3 separate regions of the Homo sapiens genome follow, and regions 1 and 2 are each linked to region 3. Evidence: promoter capture Hi-C in 16 types of primary human blood cells and fetal thymus (Javierre and others, 2016). All regions are on one chromosome and are shown on one strand. The core of a region is centred on a gene start or on the middle of the fragment in contact, and the rest is flanking DNA. Distances in the headings are between cores, read along the strand shown.

Region 1 (3,181 bases), core at 510-3,009, 87 kb after region 3:
ATTGTCCCAGTGTGCCCAGAGGTTTCTTCAAGAGGGCTAAGGGCTGTGGGCTTTGAATGGAGAGGTGGCTGAGGCTTTGAATGGGAGGGACTGAAGGAGGCAATAATCCCACACCCTCACCCAGCTTCAGAGGAGCTGGTACTGAGGTGGTTGCCATGGTGACAATAGCTCCCTGGTCAGGAGATTTTTTCTCTCTTTCCTCTCCTCCCTTTGCTCTTCCCCAAGCAGCAGCAATAGCAGCAGCAACCAGGTCTTTTCCCTCTTCTTCTTAATGAGAGGCAGGGGATGACAAACAAAGAGTAATCCCAGCTGGCCACCTACAATTTGGAGCTGTCCATGTCAGGATGGGCTGGTGGTCTAGGAGGGACTCCTAATAGAAGGGGCCTGGAGAATGTGTGGGAGGAGGTAGCCTGTACCTAGGCTGGTTAAGAAGGAATGTGTCTTCAGTGAGTTCTAAACCAACCCCGCCCCCCTCAGGTCTCCTCTCTTTAATGTCCTCTTGGTTCAGGATCCTGTTTTTCCATAATCAGCCATAGAACCAGAGTGTCTCAGTGCCAGAAGGCTGTTCAAGTTCATCTCACCCAGTCTACCCTCTCTGTTATACCTCTCCCCATTTTCATGAAGGATCAGAGAGGGGAGTGACTTGGCCAAAGTCAAACTTTGGCTGTACAAGATTTGAACCCAGCTCATCTGCCCTCCAGGTATAGTTCACTTTAGGGCCAAGAGCAATACAGCCCACATGGCACCTTGGCAAGGTCCCCACGGAGCAGCAGGAAGGTGGGAGAGAGGGAGCAAATAGTCATACAAATTAGAAAGACATTTGACAGGCAGAATGAGAGGATTTGGTGCCTGGCTGTGAGGGGGGAGGGAGGAGGTATGGAGGTTGGGGCCTTGGCAGCAACTGGACTGACGGTATGGGTGGTCTGCTGGGGGTGGTGTCTTTGGTTCATCCTCCCGCCAGGATGAGAGATGCCAAATATGGGGCCTCTGCCTAGCACTGGGGGCCACTGGGGAGGGCTGTCGAGACTGTGAGGAGAAAAACTGGGGAAGGGGGATTGTCCCCCCCTCAGGTATGCTGTGGGCTCTGTCAGCTTGAGGGGTGGGATGTGGGGACAGTGTCTGGGGACAACAAGGAGGGAGCGCTCTGTGGAGGGGGAGGCTGTCTTTGGGGGCAGGGGCTCCCTGATGAGAAGTGGCTAGGGGCTATCCGTGGAGGTGGGAGTTTGCCATGGTGCTGGGCAGACAACCCATATCCAAACAGGAGGGAGGGTGACCAGCGCCTCCAGCTAGCACCAGCGCCACCACACCCCCAGATGTGTGTGTGTGCATCTGTGTGTGTATGTGTGTTTGCGCGCGTGTATGTTGGGGGCCATAGCAATGGTTGTTCTCACCTGAGCTGGGGATAAGTAGGCGGCTCTGCCTCCTTCTCTGCACCCATGGGCCTGGACTGAGGTGGGGGGTCTCCTGCCCAGGGGTGGGCTCTTCAGTTGCTGCCGCCTAAGGCGGAACCACGGGTCAGGGAGGTGAATCAGGGCAGGACATGAGGATGGGAAGGGAGAGTGGAGGGGGAGGGGGCCAGGGCCTCCGCCCGGTGGGTTTGTTGCCTTGAGGACCCGGTCCCACTCGCATTACCTGAGGCCGGTCGCCGGGTCGCTGGATGGCTCCGAGCCTCGGCGGGCCGCGGGAACCGAGGCTGGCTCGCGGGCCGGCAGCTGTGCTCTCCAAGGTCTGCGCCGGAGCCGCCTTCCAGCTCTTGTATCACTATGTGCCTCCCGAAGGCGACACTATTTGCATAAGCCCCGCCCCATCCCGGGCAGGTTGCACGGCTATTGGCTCCTCTGGAGCGGAGTGGCAGGCGGGGTTTCAGGTGGGGACCGGGTGGCCGGCGAGGCCCGGCCGCAGGAGCGCGCCCCGCCTGCCCGCGCTGACCTTCCCGGAGTCGCCGGGAAGCGGGAGGGCTGCACCCCCATCTGCACCCCTGCCCTGAGGCTCAGCCCCCGGCTTACAAGTCTGGGGTGGAAAGGGTCGACGATGAAAGTGGATTCTCAAAAACAACCTCACCGTTGCTATGGAAACGGGAGAACCACAGCCGAATCTCTAAGCTTCCTTTCCTGGGCCCCAGCATGGGTGGGGGCGGAAGAGGGGATGAGTCACAAGATGAGACCCCCCCCCACACCCATATCCCACCCGAAATTGGGAGGGGCCAAAGAGGAGCTGGGGAGGAGCTGGGTGGGAGAGGGAGGAGGTGGCTGGTCAGCAGTCCACATCTCTGCGTCCCCCCTCCCCACGCATCCACTCCCCTCACGCCGTGGGGCAGAGAGGAGGGTGCTGGTTGCGCGCGGAGAGCGCGGTATGGGTGGCGAAGTCCCAGCCTCTACCTAGCCCCGCGCTAGTCGTGGGTTCCCTCCAGCCACCCCTCTGGCCCTTCATTCCGGTCCCTCCCCAGACGGGCCCTCCTCCTTTCTCATGGACCCCCAAGAGGCCTCTCGCGTTCTCCCCCGAAGGACCCCTATGCCTAGCCATGGATCCTCCATTCCCCACCCTCCCGTTTTCCCGTCCCGCAGACGGAGCCGGTCCCCAGCCGCCGCCAGTCTCCGGCCTCGGATGTTGACACAAACCCGAGGCGGTTTACACTGAGCGGGTCTGGAAGCTTTCAGGGCCCCGGCAACACCTCCTCCCCGCACTTGGGGGTCTCCCCACAGCCCGGGCCGGCCGCCTGGGCTGCACTGGCGTCTGAGAGCTCCTGACACAAGGCTGTGGGAAGGAACCCTTTTAAGCCAAACTGGGGGCAAAAGGGGAGCCAGACATCCCCGGGCTGGGCCACGTGCGGGGCAGGGACTTCTAAGGATCTGTCGAAAGTCGGGGCGGACGGCTGGGGATTGGCCTAATCGGAGCGCGGACGCTGAAGAGCAGCGGTGAGAGGCGGGGCTTCTGTCCGCGCGGCGAAGGTAGAGGTGGGCTGGGCGGGGCGATGGAGGATGGGGTCAGACCTGCCGCGAGTGGGGGCGAGGCTTCTGGAGCTGGTCCCAGAAATGCCTGGGCCAGGCTCGCTGGGGGAGGAACCCGTGGACGTCCCTTTTCTTTAGGACCTGTCCCGTTGCCCCTTGAAACGGTTTTGCTCTACCATTTTCGAGGCTGCGGACTATGCCTTCTCTCTGCGGCCTTAGCGGGGGCTGAGGGC
Region 2 (3,370 bases), core at 252-2,751, 68 kb after region 3:
CCCTTGAGTAAGGTCCAGACTCCTTAACATGATCCCCAAGGCCCTCTGTGGGCTCTTCCACATCCCTCCAGCTCTTCTTCCAACAATCCTGCATTCTTCATTCAGTACTTATTCAGGAACACAGTCCTGAGCTTCAGAGACATCTGCATGACTTTTGCCTGTCCTGTTTCCCTCTCCCTGGGAAACTCCACCTACTCAGGCTTTAAGATCAGGATACGTGCCACTTCTACAAAGCTTTCCCCAGTGTGATGTCACTACTCTACTCCCCCCCCAACTCCCCTAGGCTCTCATCTCTGGAGCCTCCATCATTGTGCAGTGAGCTCCTGAGGCAGGGACTCAGGTTATTTAATTCTTCAATCCCCACTCTTGAGCAGAGCTTGGAGGTGCTAATTGAATGATTGCTGATAGGGTGGACCTGTTGGGGAAGGGTTCTTGGAGGGAAGCAGCAAATTGCTTTAAGATCAAGCTGGAGCTCTTTGGAGGACCGCTGTGGGCCAACCTCTATTCTCGGTTTTCTCCTCAAGCTCTGAGATCTGGGAAGTTGGAGACAGCAAGGTCCAGGGGCAGACCAGGGCATCATCAACTTGTTTGATGGCAGAGAGGAGAGAGCTCCTCTGTGAGGTCCCAGACGGTTGACACCACCACAGGGTCGTGGGGATGTTAATGCCCACTGCAAGGGGAGCAGAACCCGAGCTGGGGGGCAGAGTCCAGCGCTGGGAGCCTGCGGCCAGGGGCGCCGATCGCCCCCCAGCGCAGAGTGTGGATCCCAGTGCCTGGAGAGAGCAGCTCCCTTTCCTTAGGACGCGGGGAGCGCACTGCCCCCAGCCCAGGGCCCAGGACCCAGAGCCAGACCCCAAACGCAGAGTCTCAGGTCCGGAGCCCGATGCCCAGATGGCGGAGACCGGAGCGCACAGCCAGGAACCGGGTTCCCAAAGTCTGGTTACCCGCGCCTGGGGCGCTTCTGGAAGCGCTGCGGACCAGCTTCGCCAACAAGTGCAATCCGCGCTCCCCGGCGGCCCGAGTGGGGAGGGGCTGGGGCTGCGGGCCTCTAGCTGGGCCCTGATGACAGCATGGGGGAGGGGGAGCCTGGCGTGGAACCCGAGTCCCGGTAAAAAAATACACCAGAGCAGAGCTCCCAAAATAAACCCGAGCCCGCGCCAGCTGCAGGGCGCATTCTGGGGCTGAGGAGCTGCGTCCCCTCCCAGAGGGGCGCCACGGGTCCCTTCCCAAGAGACTTATGACCCCTCCTCCGGGGTAACCCTTCCCCCGTCCCCCGCATACCCGTGCATTGCTTTTACCGATTTGGGTTTCTTCTTGGGCGCGAGGTTGTCGTAGAAAATCTTGGCTTCCTCCCAGACCGGGGCCGCAGCGGTCTCCGCTCCTGGCCCGGGCTCGCGGGGCTCCTGGGGCTCCCGGGGCTGCCCAGGTTCCATGCTCCGGCTCTGACCCGGCCCGGCCAGAGCAGGCGGCGGCGTAGACGCGGAGGTGGCTGGGGCTGGGCTGCAGGAGGGAGGCGAGTCCCGGCGAGGGAAGGGGGCGGGCAGCGGCGAGGAGGCTGTGCGTGTGAGCTGGGCTCCCCGCCCGCCGGGCGGGGGGAGGTCACACTGGCCCTCTCGGTCGCCCGTGTGTCGCTGCCGCTGCTGCTGCTACTGCTGTACGGTATGAGGGATAGCTGGGCTCTCCTTCCCCGACCGACCCACGCCAGCAGCCGGTTGGGTGGTGAGGGGGGCTCTCTGGCTCTCTGGGTTTGTGGGCTGCAGCGGATTGGGGATTGCGAAAATGATGTTCTTCGCAGGCGCTGCAGGGCGCGGAGACAGGAGAGGCCTGACAACTTTTTTTTTCCCCCAGGATAGTGATCCCCAAAGGACAAAATGAAAAGCTAGCCGCTCCCCTCCCAAAAGCTAGCTGCCCATCTTTCCTTTAGGAGCTAGGACCCTGGGATCCTGACGATGTCCCCTTCCCTCCGAGGCCAGTCCATCCGGCAGACGGGCAGGAGGTGATGCATGGATGGCTCCTCTCACTAGCAGAAGCCTGCTCCCAGCGGGAGCTCAGTGAAGGGCCCAACCCGGCAGCTCCTCCACACCACCTAGGAGGGGCCCTTGAAGTCCATGTTGAGACCAGGCTCGGGTGGTCTCAGGTCGAGACCTTGGCCTGGGGTGGGGACCCAGGCCAGAGAGACTCCCAGGGACTCTGAACCCGAATTCTTGCTGGCCCTTTGGTGGTCAGCAGAGGGCGCGCATTCCTAGGCCCCCACCTGCCCAGCTTGGGGTGATTTGTTATAGGCCATGAAGGGGCTGGATAGAGGGAGGGCAGAAGAGGGGCCTCGGAACTACCATCCTGGAATTCCAGGGTGTTGTCCCTCTTGATGCAGAGCTCTGTACTAGTCTCAGGGTGCAGACACAAATGTCACCCATCCCAAGGTACAGGCCAGGAAGCAGACAGCCTCTCTCAGAGGTGTGCATGGGTGGGTGGGAGAAGCAGGAGAAAACACTGGCTTAGCTAGGAGGGCCTCTGACTGGGGAGGTGAGGGGGCTACAGAATGGAGTGATCCCCTCAGCCTCCACCAGGTCCTGGGAGGAATAAACCAACCCTTGTGTGGGAGGAAGGGAAAAATCATAATAAAATGTTAGGATTGGGGGAAGTGTGTTTAGACTTACTTCTAGAAGATTGTTTCCAGAGATGGCCCAAAAACCTCTTCCATCCTGCCTGTCCTTTGGAAATGTGACTTTGACATTCCTCCCATTCAGAGGTGGAGTCCAGTCTGAGCTGGCCCTGTGACTTGCTTTGACCAATTGAATGGAGTAGAAGTGGTGCTCTGTGGTTTCCAAGCTTACGTCTTAAGAGGCCTTGCAGATTCCATTTTTGCCCTCTTGGGAGCCAGCTACTATGTAAATAAGTCTGGACTATCCTGCTGGAAAGGCCACGTAGTGAGACAGATAGGACCTGGAGGATAAGAAGCTAGCGACAGCCCAGGTGACTATAGGCACAATTGACAGACATGTGAATGAGGCCATCCTGGCTGTCCCAGCCCCAGCTCAGCTCCCAGTGGAGTGCAGCTATGTGGGTGACGCCAGCCAACACAACCTGAAGCAGTAAAACCTTCCAGCTGAGCCCAGCCAACTCACAGAATCATCAAAAATAATAAATTGTTGTTTCAGGCACCAAGTTTTGGGGTAGCTTGTTACACTGCAATAAATAATTGAAACTCTAGGAATGAGGTCAATTATTCTCAGGTGCCTCATGGAGAAGAATGATGAAGTAACTCAGGAAGAATACATAGAGTGGTTACTTGGATGGAGGTGGGCACTTCACACAAAAGTGAGCCACCCCCATGCTGTCCAGCGGCCTTTAATCTGTGTGATTGGCTTGA
Region 3 (3,219 bases), core at 202-2,701:
AAAATGTTTCATAGTTTTCTGAGAAAACATCTAGCCATCTTTTGTTATATGTATATTTTGTATATTGATCAATGCAGATCAATATGTTACATGTATATTCCTAGGTGCCTTATAATTTTTGTTGCTATTGGAAATGCATTATAAATAATACATTCTTTCTTTTTTTTTTTTTTTGAGACAGATTCTCACTCTGTCGCCAGGCTGGAGTGCAGTGGTGTGATCTCGGCTCACTGCAACCTCTGCCTTCCAGGTACAAGTGATTCTGCTGCCTCAGCCTCCCGAGTAGGTGGGACTACAGGTGTGTGCCACAACGCTCACCTAATTTTTGTATTTTTAGTAGAAACGGGGTTTCACCATGTTGGCCAAGATGGTCTTGATCTCTTGACCTCGTGATCCACCCACCTCGGCCTCCCAAAGTGCTGGGATTACAGGCGTGAGCCACCCCACCCAGCTTTTTTTTGCTTTTTTTTTTTTGAGATGGAGTCTTGCTCTGTCCCCCAGGCTGGAGTGCAGGGGAGCCATCTCGGCTCACTGCAACCTCCGCTGCCCGGGTTCAGGCGATTCTCCTGCCTCAGCCTCCTGAGTAGCTGGGATTACAGGCAAGCACCACCACACCTGGCTAATTTTTGTATTTTTAGCAGAGACAGGGTTTCTCTATGTTGGCCAGGGTGGTCTCAAACTCCTGACCTCGGTGATCCACCCACCTCAGCCTCCCAAAGTGTTGGGATTACAGGTGTGAGCCTCCAAGCCCAGCCACATTGAGAGGTGAAGCCACCTGGACTTCTGGGTTGGGTGGGGACTTGGAGAACTTTTCTGTCTTACAAGAAAATTGTAAAATGCACCAACTGGCACTCTGTAGCTAGGATTGAAAAATGCACCAATCAGCGCTCTGTGGCTAGCTAGAGGTTTGTAAAATGCGCCAATCAGCACACTGTAAAATGGACCAATCAGTGCTCTGTAAAATGAACCCATCAGCAGGACATGGGTGGGGACAAATAAGGGAATAAAAGCTGGCCACCCCCCCCCACCCCAGCCAGCCACCACAACCGGCTTGGGTCCCCTTCCAAGCTGTGGAAGCTTTGTTCTTTCACTTTTCATAATAAAACTCGCTGGTGCTTACTCTTTGGGCCCGTGCCATCTTTAAGAGCTGTAACACTCACCGGGAAGGTCCACAGCTTCATTCTTGAAGTCAGTGAGACCAAGAACCCACCAGAAGGAACCGACTCTGGACACAATATGTTCTTATTTGTTGTTACTCCAATAAGCAATTAACAAGAGTGCTGTCAGAATGTGTGGGATGATCTTGTATTCAACTAACCTGTCAAATACTCTTATCAATTCTAATGCTCTGCATGTAGATTTTTATTTTCCAAATAGAAAATGAATCATGCATATAAGAATGGTGTTACCTCTTCCTACTTCCTAAGCCTCTGATTTCTATTATATTTATTACATTAGCTAGAAATGCCCATCAAATTTTGAATAAAGGGCATTCATATTTTTAACTTTTATGGGAATGCTAGAGTTTCACCGTTGAATTTGATGTTTAGGAATTTGGCAAATATCCTTTATAGGGTTAAGGTATTATCCTACTAATCCTAATTTGCTAAGATTTGAAAAATGAATGAATTCATCAAATGATTATTTATTTAAGTGATTATATACTTTTTATCTTTTAATGTATTAAGGTTCAGAACAGGAATTCTTTCCCTGTTGTTAACCTATCCTTGCATTTTTGGCTAAACTCTACTACATATTTGCTTCTAATTTAGATGTCATATGGATTCTGTTTTATTATTTAGGATGTTTGTATCTATAACCGTAACTAAGCTTGTTCTAAAATGTTCTTACCTTTAATTGCCCTGTCGTGGGCTGATGACAAGGGCATACTAGTATTACAAAACAAGTTAGGCAGTTTTCCCTTCTTTTCCACCCAGTAAAAACAGTTTGTATAAAACAGAATGTATTAGTCAGGGCTCGGCGTGGTGGCTTACGCCTGTAATCCCAGCATTTTGGGAGGCCGAGGCGGGCAGATCATTTGAGGTCAGGAATTTGAGACCAGCCTGGCCAACGTGGTGAAACCCCATCAATACCAAAAATACAAAAATTAGTTGGGTGTGATGGCACATGCTTTTAGTCCCAGCTACTTTGGAAGCTGAGGCACGAGATTCTCTTGATCCCGGGAGGCGGAGGTTGCAGTGAGCCGAGATAGCGCCACTGGACTCCAGCCTGGGTGACAGAGCAAGAGCCTGTCTCGAAAAAAAAAAAAATGTATTAGGGCTCTCCAGAGAAACAGAACCAACAGGACTTATTTTTATTTATTTATTTTTTTTTTGAGATGGAGTCTCGCTCTGTCGCCCAGGCTGGAGTTCAGTGGCACAATCTTGGCTCACTGCAATCTCCACCTCCCGGGTTCAAGCGATTCTCTTGCCTCAGCCTCCCGAGTAGCTGGGACTACAGGCGCCTGCCACCAGGCCCAGCTAATTTTTGTATTTTTAGTAGAGACTGGGTTTCATCATATTGCCCAGGCTGGTCTTGAACTCGTGACCTTGTCATCCGCCCACCTTGGCCTCCCAAAGTGCTGGGATTACAAGCGTGAGCCACTGCACCCGGCCAGGACCCATTTATTTATTATGAGAAACTGGCTTATGTGATTATGAAGGTTGAGAAGTCCCAAGATCTGCAGTTAGCAAGCTGGAGACCCAGGAGAGCCAATGTGTGTTCCAGTCTGAAAGTCTACTGGCTTGAGATCCAAGAAAAGCCAATGTTTCAGTTCAAATCTATAGAATGGAAAAGACCCATGTCCCAGCTCATACGGTCAGGCAGGAGACATTGCCTCTTACTTGAGGGAGGGGTGGCCTTTTTGTTCTATTCAGGTCTGACTGGATGAGGGCCACCCACATGGGGGCATGCAGTTTGCTTTATTCAGTCAAGTGTTAATCCCATCCAAAAACAGCCTCACAGATACACTCACAATGTTTGACCAAATAAACCGAGCAGTCCATGACTCAGTCAAGTTGACACATAAAATGAATCACATAGTGAGAATATATTCTTTGAAGGTCTGGACAACTGAGCTGTGAGTCCCAACAAGCCTGTTATCCTTTGCTCATTTGTTTGGGTGTGGAAGTGTGGGTGACGTATTTTTCATCAGGGTAATTCCCCTGGAGCCATTCTCTCCTACAAGGGCCTACATGGGATGATCCTCCCTGGCTCCTT

The links. The method cuts DNA at HindIII sites, captures the fragments that hold promoters and counts their contacts. A CHiCAGO score of 5 or more calls a contact.
Region 1: the fragment with the promoter of HPCAL4 here is called in contact with a fragment that was not itself captured in region 3 in 2 of 17 cell types (endothelial precursors and M1 macrophages); the score reaches 5.9 in endothelial precursors.
Region 2: the fragment with the promoter of NT5C1A here is called in contact with a fragment that was not itself captured in region 3 in 3 of 17 cell types (megakaryocytes, M1 macrophages and M2 macrophages); the score reaches 6.2 in megakaryocytes.

What each region holds. Positions count from the first base shown.
Region 1 is chr1:39,689,674-39,692,854 of GRCh38, forward strand. HPCAL4 (hippocalcin like 4) reads right to left here and starts at 1,760. Exons shown (of 4, transcript NM_016257.4): 1 at 1,633-1,760. RefSeq lists silencers at 36-262, 1,537-1,616, 1,837-2,066 and an enhancer at 2,139-2,729. The HindIII fragment of the contact is 11,293 bases long and covers 1-2,100 here.
Region 2 is chr1:39,670,606-39,673,975 of GRCh38, forward strand. NT5C1A (5'-nucleotidase, cytosolic IA) reads right to left here and starts at 1,502. Exons shown (of 6, transcript NM_032526.3): 1 at 1,299-1,502. The coding sequence starts at 1,433. RefSeq lists a silencer at 1,285-1,694. The HindIII fragment of the contact is 2,595 bases long and covers 233-2,827 here.
Region 3 is chr1:39,602,985-39,606,203 of GRCh38, forward strand. No RefSeq gene overlaps it. Among named protein-coding and RNA genes, the nearest start is that of PABPC4, 28 kb to the left of the region's middle. The HindIII fragment of the contact is 753 bases long and covers 1,076-1,828 here.